Linked DNA regions of Homo sapiens: regions 1 and 3 are each linked to region 2. Evidence: promoter capture Hi-C in human tissues and cell types (Jung and others, 2019). All regions are on one chromosome and are shown on one strand. Each heading gives the region's core, a stretch centred on a gene start or on the middle of the fragment in contact. The rest is flanking DNA. Distances are from core to core; before and after follow the strand shown. Region 1 has its middle 53 kb from the start of MIR4308. Region 2 holds the start of ATG14 (autophagy related 14). Region 3 overlaps GCH1 (GTP cyclohydrolase 1).

Region 1 (3,553 bases), core at 17-2,516, 590 kb after region 2:
GAAAGATGTCAAGCAGGGGATTGTGGGTTGTAATCAGAGTTGGAGGATGGACAGCTTAGGAGGCTATTGTATTAATTCAGGGGGGATAATGAGGCTGAAACTAGGTCAGTGGCAGTGGAGGCTGAGACAAGGGAACAGCAGAGAGATTTAAGAGGGAGAAGCTGAAGGGTTTGTCTACAACTGGGTGAAGATTGGTCCAGGACAGTCCCCAGTTTGGGAGCTTGGGTGTCTGGGAATCACAGCAGCATTGACCACTGAGATAATGTTAATGAGATAAATGGTCATGTGGGAGGTCTTGGAGGGAGTAAGGTAAGCAGGGGAGCCTTCGGTTTCAGACATGTTGTTTGAGGTCCCTGTGGGACACCTAAGTGGAGACATCCAGTAATTAGCCAGTGCATAGGAGAGAGGTCTGGGCTGGAGGCAGGGATCTGAAAGTCAGCTGCAGACCAGTTAGTACACACATGGTGCTTGGAGCTGAGGTCAGCTAAGGAGAGAGTGAAGAGTGAGAAGATTGGAGAAAAGATAACTCTCCAAAGACCACCCACAATCAGAATTTGGGGAGCCATGAGAGATGGGTGTGCCCAATGTCAAGAGTGTTGTTTCCAGAAAGAGAATGTGGGTAAATCAAAGTGGATGTGTGTGCACATATGTACCTATGAGAATGTTTATTCTAGCATTGTTCATAATATTTAACAGTTGAAATAACTTACCTAACAACTGGAATAAATCATGGTATGTCCATGTGAAGGAATGAATACTACGCAGCCATTAAAATGCAAAAAAATACTCATGATTTATTAGTGAAAACACTTATTATTTAGAAAATATTTATTTAGCCACTACTTTTGTCAGGCACCATGTTAGGTGGTGCTTATTACAAAATTGTGTGTGTGTGTGTGTGTGTGTGTGTATACATTGTTTTATATATATATATAAAATAATTATATATAAAAAATAATTTATATATACATAATAAAACTATGTATGTATATAATAAAATTATATATATATATCAATGGCAACAGGCTGGGCATGGTGGCTCATACCTGTAATCCTAGCACTTTGGGAGGCCAAATCACTTGAGGTCAGGAGTTCAAAACCAGCCTGGCTAACATGGTGAAACCCCATCTCTACTAAAAATACAAAAAATTAGCTGGGCGTGGTGGCGGGTGCCTGTAATCCCAGCTACTCGGGAGGCTGAGGCAGGAGGATCACTTGAACCCAAGAGGTGGAAGTTGCAGTGAGCCAAGATTGTGCTACTGCACTCCAGCCTGGGCGACAGAGCAAGCCTCTGTCTCAAACAAACAAAGATCAATGGCAGCAAATAACATCAAAATGCATGAGCAATAGAAAATACTATTTTAGGCTAGGTGTGGTGGCTCACACTTGTAATCCCAGAACTTTGGGAGGCTGAGGTCGGGGGATCATGAGGTCAGGAGTTCGAGACCAGCCTGGCTAATACAGTGAAACCCCTTTTCTACTAAAAATACGAAAATTAGCTGGGCATGGTGGTGGGCGCCTGTAATCCCAGCTACTTGGGAGGCTGAGGCAGGAGAATCACTTGAACTCGAGAGGTGGAGGTTGCAGTGAGTCAAGATTGCGCCACTGCATTCCAGCCTGGGTGACAGAGCTAGACTCCATCTCAAAAAAAAAAAAAAAAAAAAAAAAGAAAAAGAAAAGAAAAGAAAACAAAAGAAAATTTATTATTTAATATTTATTTAGTAGTCATGTAAGTTTTCTTATTTGCCTTCTCTCTTTTTCAAATTCTATACAATGAGCTTGCATTATATTGGTAAGAAAACCCATCTAAGTAGGTAGGAAAATACCATAGAAATGCCATTGGATTTAGGAAATCATTAACCTGATAGTGCCAAAGCTACTGGAGGAATGAATGTTCCCATTCCATTTTTTGAGTAATATTTCTACTTCCTCTCGAAACCACAAGTTTAGACTTTTCCTTGAAGAAGACTGGCTACAAGAAATGCTTAAGAAGTCCTACACCTTCCTGGGTACCCCATGACCCACTCAAACAAAAATTGATTTAGTAAAGTAGATTTTCCTCCCTAATGTGGTTGGGCACCATCCAACTCATTGAGGGCCTGAATATAACAAAGATGAAAGGAGGAATTGCCTCTTTTGCTTCCTGAATGTGTGCTTATCCCTTATCCCTCAACTGGGATTTACATCTTCAGTGTTCAGGTCTTCAGACTCAGACTGAATTATATCACTGGCTCTCTAGGGTTTCTATTTTCCATATGGCAGATTATGGGACTTCTCAACCTCCATTATTGCATAAGCAATTCCTCATAATCAATCTCAGTCTCTCACTCTCTACACACACACACACACACACACACACACACATGAATGTGTATTACATGTATATGAGTGTGTGTGCATGCATATGTCATCCTGTTTCTCTGGAGAACTGGTACTAAAACAATATGATTTGATTCTTTTCTCTCTTTTGTAACTTCTATAGGTATTTCCTGGGGGCTTATCTAGAATATCTTAAGCTGATAACAACTTAAACTCAATTGCATACAAAAATCCTACACTTTTAATTCCTCTCCCACATTTCATGTTATTGCTGTTACAGTTTACATCTATTCATATCATGACTCCTTTAACATATTTTTAGTTATAGTTATTTTAAATATTTTTATCTTTTAACTTTTATGCTAGAATTAAAAGTGATATACTCCCCACCATTACAGTAATAAAGTATTCTGTATTTGTCTGTATATTTACTTTTACTAATGAGTTTTAAACTTTAATATAACACTGTGTTGCTGTTTAGCATTCTTTTGCTTTAACTTGAAGAATTCCCTTTAGCATTTCTTTTAAGGCGGGTCTAGCGGTGATGAACTCCATCAGCTTTTGTTTGTCTGGGAAAGTCTCTATCTCTCCTTCATTTCTGAAGAACAATTTTGCTGGGTATTCTTGATTGTCAGTATTTTCTTTTAGCCCCTTGAATATATCATCTCACTCCCTTCTGGCCTGCAATGTTTCTGTTAAAAATTCCACTGATAATCTTATAGAGGTTCCCTTATATGTGACAAGTCACTGTTTTCTTGCTGCTTTCAAAATTCTCCTTGTCTTTGGCTTTTGGCAATTCAATAATAACATACCTCAGTGTGAATTGCTTTGGATTCATCTTGCTTGGTGTCCTTTAGGCTTCTTGGACCTGCATGTCCATTTTCTTCCCCCAAGTTTGGAAAGTTTTCAGCCATTATTTTTTGAGTAATATTTCTGGTCCTTTCTCTCTCTTCTTCTGGGGCTTCCATAATGCATCCACTAGTCTGCTTGATAGTGTCCCATAAGTTCAGTAAACTTTCTTTACTCTTTTTCATTCTTTTTTTTCTTCTTACTCCTGACTGAATTATTTCCAGTGACCTGTCTTTGAGTTAGCTGATCCTTTCCTCTGCTTTATCTAGTCTGCTGCTGAATCCCTCCAGTGAATTTTTCAGTTCAAGTGTTATGTTCTTCAGCTCCATTATTTATGTTTGGTACTTTTAAATATTTTCTATCTCTGTTGAAATTCTCAGTTTGT
Region 2 (3,152 bases), core at 303-2,802:
GGAGTTTCAAATAACTGCATAAGCTAGATACTATCTGTGATATCATCTAGCACGATAGGAATTAATGTGTATTTTTTGCCTTTTAAAATATTGAACAGTTGATCCTGATCATTAGGTATTAAGCACTGTGAAGGATCCTGTCTGAATACAAATGAAACATAAGCCCGAGACCTTAAAAAATAATCCTTTTGTTTGAAATGATCAGAGAGAAAGACTTCTCACTTAAAAATAAATCTTAAACTTTCAGGAACCATTCAAGTTTAGTGTAAACTGTATTCTGAATATAGAGAATTTTTGCTTTTGCTTGTTTTTGTAATCCTACGTGATTTGTATTTAAAAAGACTGGGTAAGATTAAGAAGACGGAGGAGCAAAGGGCTCAGATTCAAGACCTAATTAGCTTGTAGAATCACCAGTTTTCGATGGTGATGTGGAGATTAACAGGGAGGGACGGGCTAATATGAATCATGGCTCTTGGCTGTAAATCATCAGTGATTACGTCCTTTACCAAAGTAAGAAAACAGGTTTGTAGGGAGGCAGAAGTCAGTTTCCAACACTTTGAGTTTGTGGTGTCCTGGAATGTCACCTGATACCTAGTAAGTAGTTCTGGATCTTTGGGTATGGAACTTGAGAAAGGAATCCTGGCTAGAGAGAGAATTCAGGGCAGTTTATCAGTAGATAGCCTAGTAAAATCATCCTTGAGAATCACTGGTCTATTTAATCTCACCTATAAACTCACTTTTCTCTGTAGTTTAGAGGCATATTCAAACACTAATTACTCTGATATGATCCTCCCAACACATCACCTTATATATCCCCTATCCACCAAAAGAAACTTGAAGGGAAGTCCTAACCATCTACCTAGTTCAAATTCTCTTAGAGCATGGCCCAGGGTAGGGAAGGTACGTTAGCCACGTGATTAACTTTTCAGAAGGATACAATTCTGATTTTGCACGTTCACTTTGGTTGTTTTCACTATTGGTAAAGTATAATACTATTAACCATATTAATCCTCACGGCATTAGATGGGTACTATAATTCTATCCATTTAACACGAGAGAACAGGCGCAGAGAGATTAAGGAACTTGCCCCAAGTCACACAGCTATTAAGCAGGTGAGTGAGCCAAAATTCAACCTAGTTCCAAGACCCAGCCCCTTCACCCTACTTTGTTTGCTGTAGTTTAGCCAGATTTTAAAGCATCCACAGCAAGTTAAATTCCCTTATTCCGCTCCCATTCCGTTTTCCCAGAATCCTTAGGGTATGGTATTACAATTTTCTGCACAAGTTTGAGGCTTTAACTCGTAGTCTTGGCCTGAGCCAGCAGATGACATTTTGTTTGGCCGACTAGCCCCTCTAATATAACTCTCCCCCTGCTTCGGGACCTGTTGCCCCTCAGCAGACCGGAAAAACAACAGTGCCCGGGACAGGAACACGCGGCGGCGGAGGGGTCCGGGGGCTCGCCGGCATCCCAGCCCCCCTTCCCCAGGCCCCTCCTCCTGGCCCAGAATGCACCCGGTTGAAAACAAAATCCCACGTGACTGGCTCTCCTCTCAGGCCATCATGGCGTCTCCCAGTGGGAAGGGAGCCCGGGCGCTGGAGGCTCCTGGCTGCGGGCCCCGGCCGCTCGCCCGGGACCTGGTGGACTCCGTGGACGATGCGGAGGGGCTGTACGTGGCTGTGGAGCGCTGCCCGCTGTGCAACACTACCCGCCGGCGGCTGACCTGCGCCAAATGCGTTCAGAGCGGCGATTTCGTCTACTTCGACGGCCGCGACCGGGAGAGGTACGGCGGCCGCCACGGCCCTATTGTTTCTTCTGCTGTGTGTCCTCCAGCCAGGCAGCCGAAGGCTGGAACCTGGGGCTCCCCGTCCGGGCACCAGATACCAGCGAGAGGAGCGAGAGAGAGGGAGTGTAGCTAGCTGCTCTGCACCGGAGCTTTGCTACCAGAGGACAGCGTAGGGGCCAGATGAGGGAAGGTCGCCGTTTCCCCATCACCCACCCAAGAGGAGTTTGACCCCACGGTGCTCTTGGTCACTGGGGAAAAAAGGAATAAGTGGTGACTCTCTGGAGAAGTTTTCCCGTTGCTGCCATTAAGTTAGATTCCCAGCTCTTTGCTGTATGTACTCCCATTCAAAAGCTTGGCTTTCTATTTTCGAAAGCATATTTATACTCATTCTCTAGAGGAGAGAGTAGAAGAGAATCAAATAACTGCTTTAGAGGGATTTGGGCCTGGTAGTCTGTCACAGATGGACTTTGTTATCAGACATGCTTACTCTAATGTGTGAATTGAGGCTTGCTGTTAACGCCCCTTTCCCCTCCCTGCCTCTAAAGATTATTTTAGATTCTTAGGAATTTGGGAACGTGTTTTGGCCTTGTTTTAAAATTCAGATTGGGAGCTGCATGCTTTTAGTTAAGAGAATTGCCTTTAGGAAAATGTTTTGGTTTCATTTCGAAATCTAAACAGCTACAAGTTCTTGGTTAAGAAAATTGAAAAATTAGTGTGATTAGCTGCAGGATCTCCCACTCTCAACTTATGTTTCAACAATTTAGTGTCAATGATAGTCAATGATAGTAAGATAGCTAGCATTCTGAGCACAAAAATTCAGGTATTAATTCATTCGCAACAACCGAATGACTTATCCCCAACTTATTAGGAAGCTGCACAGTAAGTGCTTTGCCCCAGGTCACACAAATAGTTAAGTGTTGGTACAAGAATTAAAATTCAGACAGCTTGGACCTATGTACCCGCACTTAACCACTAGACTTTATATCCTCTATATTTGGGAATGTTTTGAGTTCTTAGTATTTCTGTGATCGTGGATGGAGTTCTTTCCTTTCTCTTTTGAGGAGGTTTGAATGACAAACTCTTTTTTAGTTTTGTTGCTGTGTCTTATTGGTGCTCTTGATGACTTTAGAAACTGCTTATGTAGTAAGTGATAGCTTTAAAAATTAAACCAGTTATAAGAATACGGGGTATGAGATGGAAATGTCTAACTGATGGAGTGAATCGAGGATTTGGTTCTGGACCTTCTTGTCTGTCTACACGTTTTACTATGTCTATTCACATAATTTAAATACCATCTATATGCTTAAGACTGCCAGACTTGTATCTCCAACCTAGTCTTCTCTAAAGTCCAGAAAACAGCTGCTTATTC
Region 3 (3,473 bases), core at 664-3,163, 520 kb after region 2:
ATCCCAGCACCTTGGGAGGCCAAGGAGGGCGTATCATTTGAGGTCAGGAGTTCGAGACCAGGCTGGCCAACATGGTGAAACCCCCATCTCTACTAAAAATACAAAAAAATTTGCTGGGCATGGTGGTGCACACCTGTAATCCCAGCTGCTAGGGAGGCTGAGGCAGGAGAATTGCTTGAACTTGGGAGCCGAAGGTTGCAGTGAGCCGAGATTGTGCCACTACACTCCAACCTGGATGACAGAGTGGGACTCTGTCTCAAAAAGAAAACAAACAAAAAAACCTTATGAATTGTCTATTTCTGGAGTTTTTCATTTAGTATTTTCAGACCATGTTTGACCAAGGGTAACTGAAACTGTGAAAAGTGGAACTGTAGATGGTCTCTATGAGTAGTCACTGTTAAAGGGGAAACAAAGATGATTGTTGGCCTGATCTTGGCCTTCAAGGAGTAAAGGGGTTCTGTGTAGTCAGAGGGAAGCTGGGTGCTTCTGGTGGAGAGACAGGAAAGTCCAGATGTTATGGAGAAAGTAGCTTTTGAGTTGAACCTAGAAGGAAATTCATTTTGAGTTTTTTTGGGTTGTTTGTTTTTTGCAGAACGTGTCCATGCTGGTTTAGAGATTATGGTCTAAGTGTTTTTCAATAAAAGGCATACACTAACATTCATAGTTACCTGTACCAGAGTTAAAATTAAATGGAGTTTTCAAGGCAATTAGATTTATTTTAAACTTTTAAAAGATCAATATTAATGGCATTAGGGCCAGCTCCTTTATCTGATGTCTTTAAAGTTCATTCTGGCCATAGTCAACCCTTGTAATGAATTTTAACCTGACACATGTTGCTACTTCATCTAGTCTTTGTAACCTGGTTATTTATTTATTTTTTGAGATGGAGTTTTGCTCTTGTTGCCCAGGCTGGAGTGCAATGGCGCGATCTCGTCTCACCGCAACCTCCACCTCCCAGGTTCAAGCGATTCTCCTGCCTCAGCCTTCCCAAGTAGCTGGGATTATAGGCATGCGCCACCAAGCCTGGCTAATTTTGTGTTTTTAATAGAGATGGGGTTTCTCCGTGTGGGTCAGGCTGGTCTCGAACTCCTGACCTCAGGTGATCCGCCCACCTCGGCCTCCCAAAGTGCTGGGATTACAGGCGTAAGCCACCGCTCCCGGCCTGGTTATTTGTTTTATCTGCAATTATTCTTTCTCGTGAATCCCCTTGGCTAATCATGCTCACAAAGTTCTGACACATATACCACCTGAATATTTCTAGAATCTGAGTCATCTTTCACTTAAATTACAATAACCTCTTAACTGGCCTTCTTGCCTCCTAGCTTGTCCTGCTCTGATCCATTCATGCCAAAGTGATTTTTCTAAAATTGAATAAGTTTTTTCCTTGCAAAAAACACTTGATTGATTTTCTGTTGTCTTTCCTCACCATTGCTGTGAGGTTTTGTTCTGTTGTAGCCTCTTGCTACATTTTTTGGCATTTTTTTCTTATCTTCCATCGCATTTCCTCATATAGGGCAATTTAGTATTTTAGTTTAGTGCATAGTTTAGTGCACAGTTAATCTGAGAAACCACTCTGTCTCATTTCCTTGCTGGAGCTGGAGACCCAGGTGAAGATCCTGAGGTTTGTTCTTTTGCAATGTTTGGCCTTTATTATCTGCCCTCCTCCTGTAATTTATTTTACTGTCCTTTTTGTTTTTGGTTGGCAACCATGGGGAGGTGGCTGCTGCCTCTTGCTTATCAACAACTGTTGCTTATGGAGACTTCTGTGAACAAGCAGCCAGGTTTAGGTGAGGAAATTGGCCGTGACTGAATTCTGGGTGAATTTTTCGAGGTCCAGTTGGTCCAAATGTTTGTGATGTGCAGTCCTAAGAGGCCATGGCTCTTCCTGTGAAGTGTGATGTGTTTTATGTATCACACATTAGTTTTTATTTGTCCTAAGCAGGAATCAGAACTCAGTTCAATAGAGGCCATTGGCAAACATCCCAAACAAGGAATCTCTCACTAAAATAGCTTAAAATATAATTTTACCTGTGTGGTCTAGGCATTTGTGGTACAGTGTTCGTTAGCAGTGAGGAAGGGCTATGCGTGCCTGGAGATCAGATGAGAGGCCTTAACTCAGTGAGGTCGCTGACTAGTTGACTTTAAGGCATAGCTGCTGTAGATCATACCCCTCTAATTGACCCCACCATTTATCGTTTATCACATGGGCAGCCCTGGAGGTATGCCTCTCTGATGGCCTATCAAAAAGAATCTGCCCTTCAGCTTCAAGGAACAGTTTGCTGACAGCCTCCAGCTGTTAGTGCTGTCAGGCTTTGCCTCCACGGAGGCCATACTTATCCCATGCTGCGTGTCCTTTCATTTTGGTGTCATCTCTTTCTCCCCTTCTACCCCTCCTCCACCACAGTAAACAGCTTTTTGAGGGCTGGGGCTGTTTATAAGTGAAGTAGTTTATAAAAAGTAGATGCACATCTTTCAGCTTCATATTTAGCATGTTGGAAATTCTGTTCACTGATCTAATTCTGAAATCTCCTTGGTATTTCTTAAACTAGTTGTATAGGCTGGGTGCAGTGGCTCATGCCTGTAATCCCAGCACTTTGGGAGGCTGAGGTGGGCAGATCACCAGGTCAGGAGATCGAGACCATCTTGGCTAACACGCTGAAACCCTGTCTCTACTAAAAATACAAAAAAAAAAAAAAAAATTAGCCGGGCGTGGTTGTGGGCGCCTGTAGTCCCAGCTACTCGGGAGGCTGAGGCAGGTGAATGGTGTGAACCCGGGAGGCAGAGCTTGCAGTGAGCGGAGATCATGCCACTGCACTCCAGCCTGGGCGACAGAGTGAGACTCCATCTCAAAAAAAAAAAAAACTAGTATGTCAACAAAGCTTTGTGCTGCTGTAATGGGAAGAACAGCTAGCCTGGGCTAGTAATATGCTAACTGGTTTATGAACTTAGGTAGGTGAGTCACTTGACTATTCTGGGTCTGTTCTGAAGGGAGAGGCAGTAGGACTAGGAGTTAAATTGTCATGCCGAGGTCTCTGAGCATGGGTGGGCCTGTCAGAATTGTCATCGCTCACTCTGTTGACTTCCAGCAGCTGACAGGCAAGGCCCTAGGAAGCTCTTCAGCCTCCTTTCCTTGCTAGAGGTGCTGTTTTCCCTGGAAATGTTCAAGCCCTGCAAATCGTTTCTATAGTAACAGGTCTCTGTCTTTTTTCTTATGATGCAGATTTTTGAAAAGGTTTCTTATCTAAATGTTCTTGGGATCTATGGTCTTCCTACCTGTAGCTCCTTTGATTAGACAGAGCCTTTATTTAAAGACTTTTCCCCCCAAGAATGTTGTTGTTGCTTCTACCAAAATAATAACCAGTTGTTAGTTTTACTAGTGCTTGAAGTTTTAGTTTATTAATAAAGCTTCATATAAACTAGAAAAGGAGTGGTTGGGTAGAATAGTAATACCGAAAAAACTAATATTCACTGTT

The links. The method cuts DNA at HindIII sites, captures the fragments that hold promoters and counts their contacts. A contact is called where the count stands out against the background at its distance.
Region 1: a fragment that was not itself captured here is called in contact with the fragment with the promoter of ATG14 in region 2 in 1 of the 25 tissues and cell types used here (lymphoblastoid cells).
Region 3: a fragment that was not itself captured here is called in contact with the fragment with the promoter of ATG14 in region 2 in 1 of the 25 tissues and cell types used here (spleen).

Annotation. Positions count from the first base shown.
Region 1 is chr14:54,823,838-54,827,390 of GRCh38, reverse strand. No RefSeq gene overlaps it. Among named protein-coding and RNA genes, the nearest start is that of MIR4308, 53 kb to the left of the region's middle. The HindIII fragment of the contact is 5,372 bases long and covers 1-3,553 here.
Region 2 is chr14:55,410,230-55,413,381 of GRCh38, reverse strand. It overlaps ATG14 (autophagy related 14), which reads left to right and starts at 1,552. Exons shown (of 10, transcript NM_014924.5): 1 at 1,552-1,780. The coding sequence starts at 1,560. It also overlaps a transcript of FBXO34 not described here. RefSeq lists a silencer at 1,263-1,562. The HindIII fragment of the contact is 14,251 bases long and covers 1-3,152 here.
Region 3 is chr14:54,887,906-54,891,378 of GRCh38, reverse strand. The region is part of intron 1 of GCH1 (GTP cyclohydrolase 1); the gene reads left to right. Among named protein-coding and RNA genes, the nearest start is that of MIR4308, 11 kb to the right of the region's middle. RefSeq lists an enhancer at 416-665. The HindIII fragment of the contact is 7,404 bases long and covers 1-3,473 here.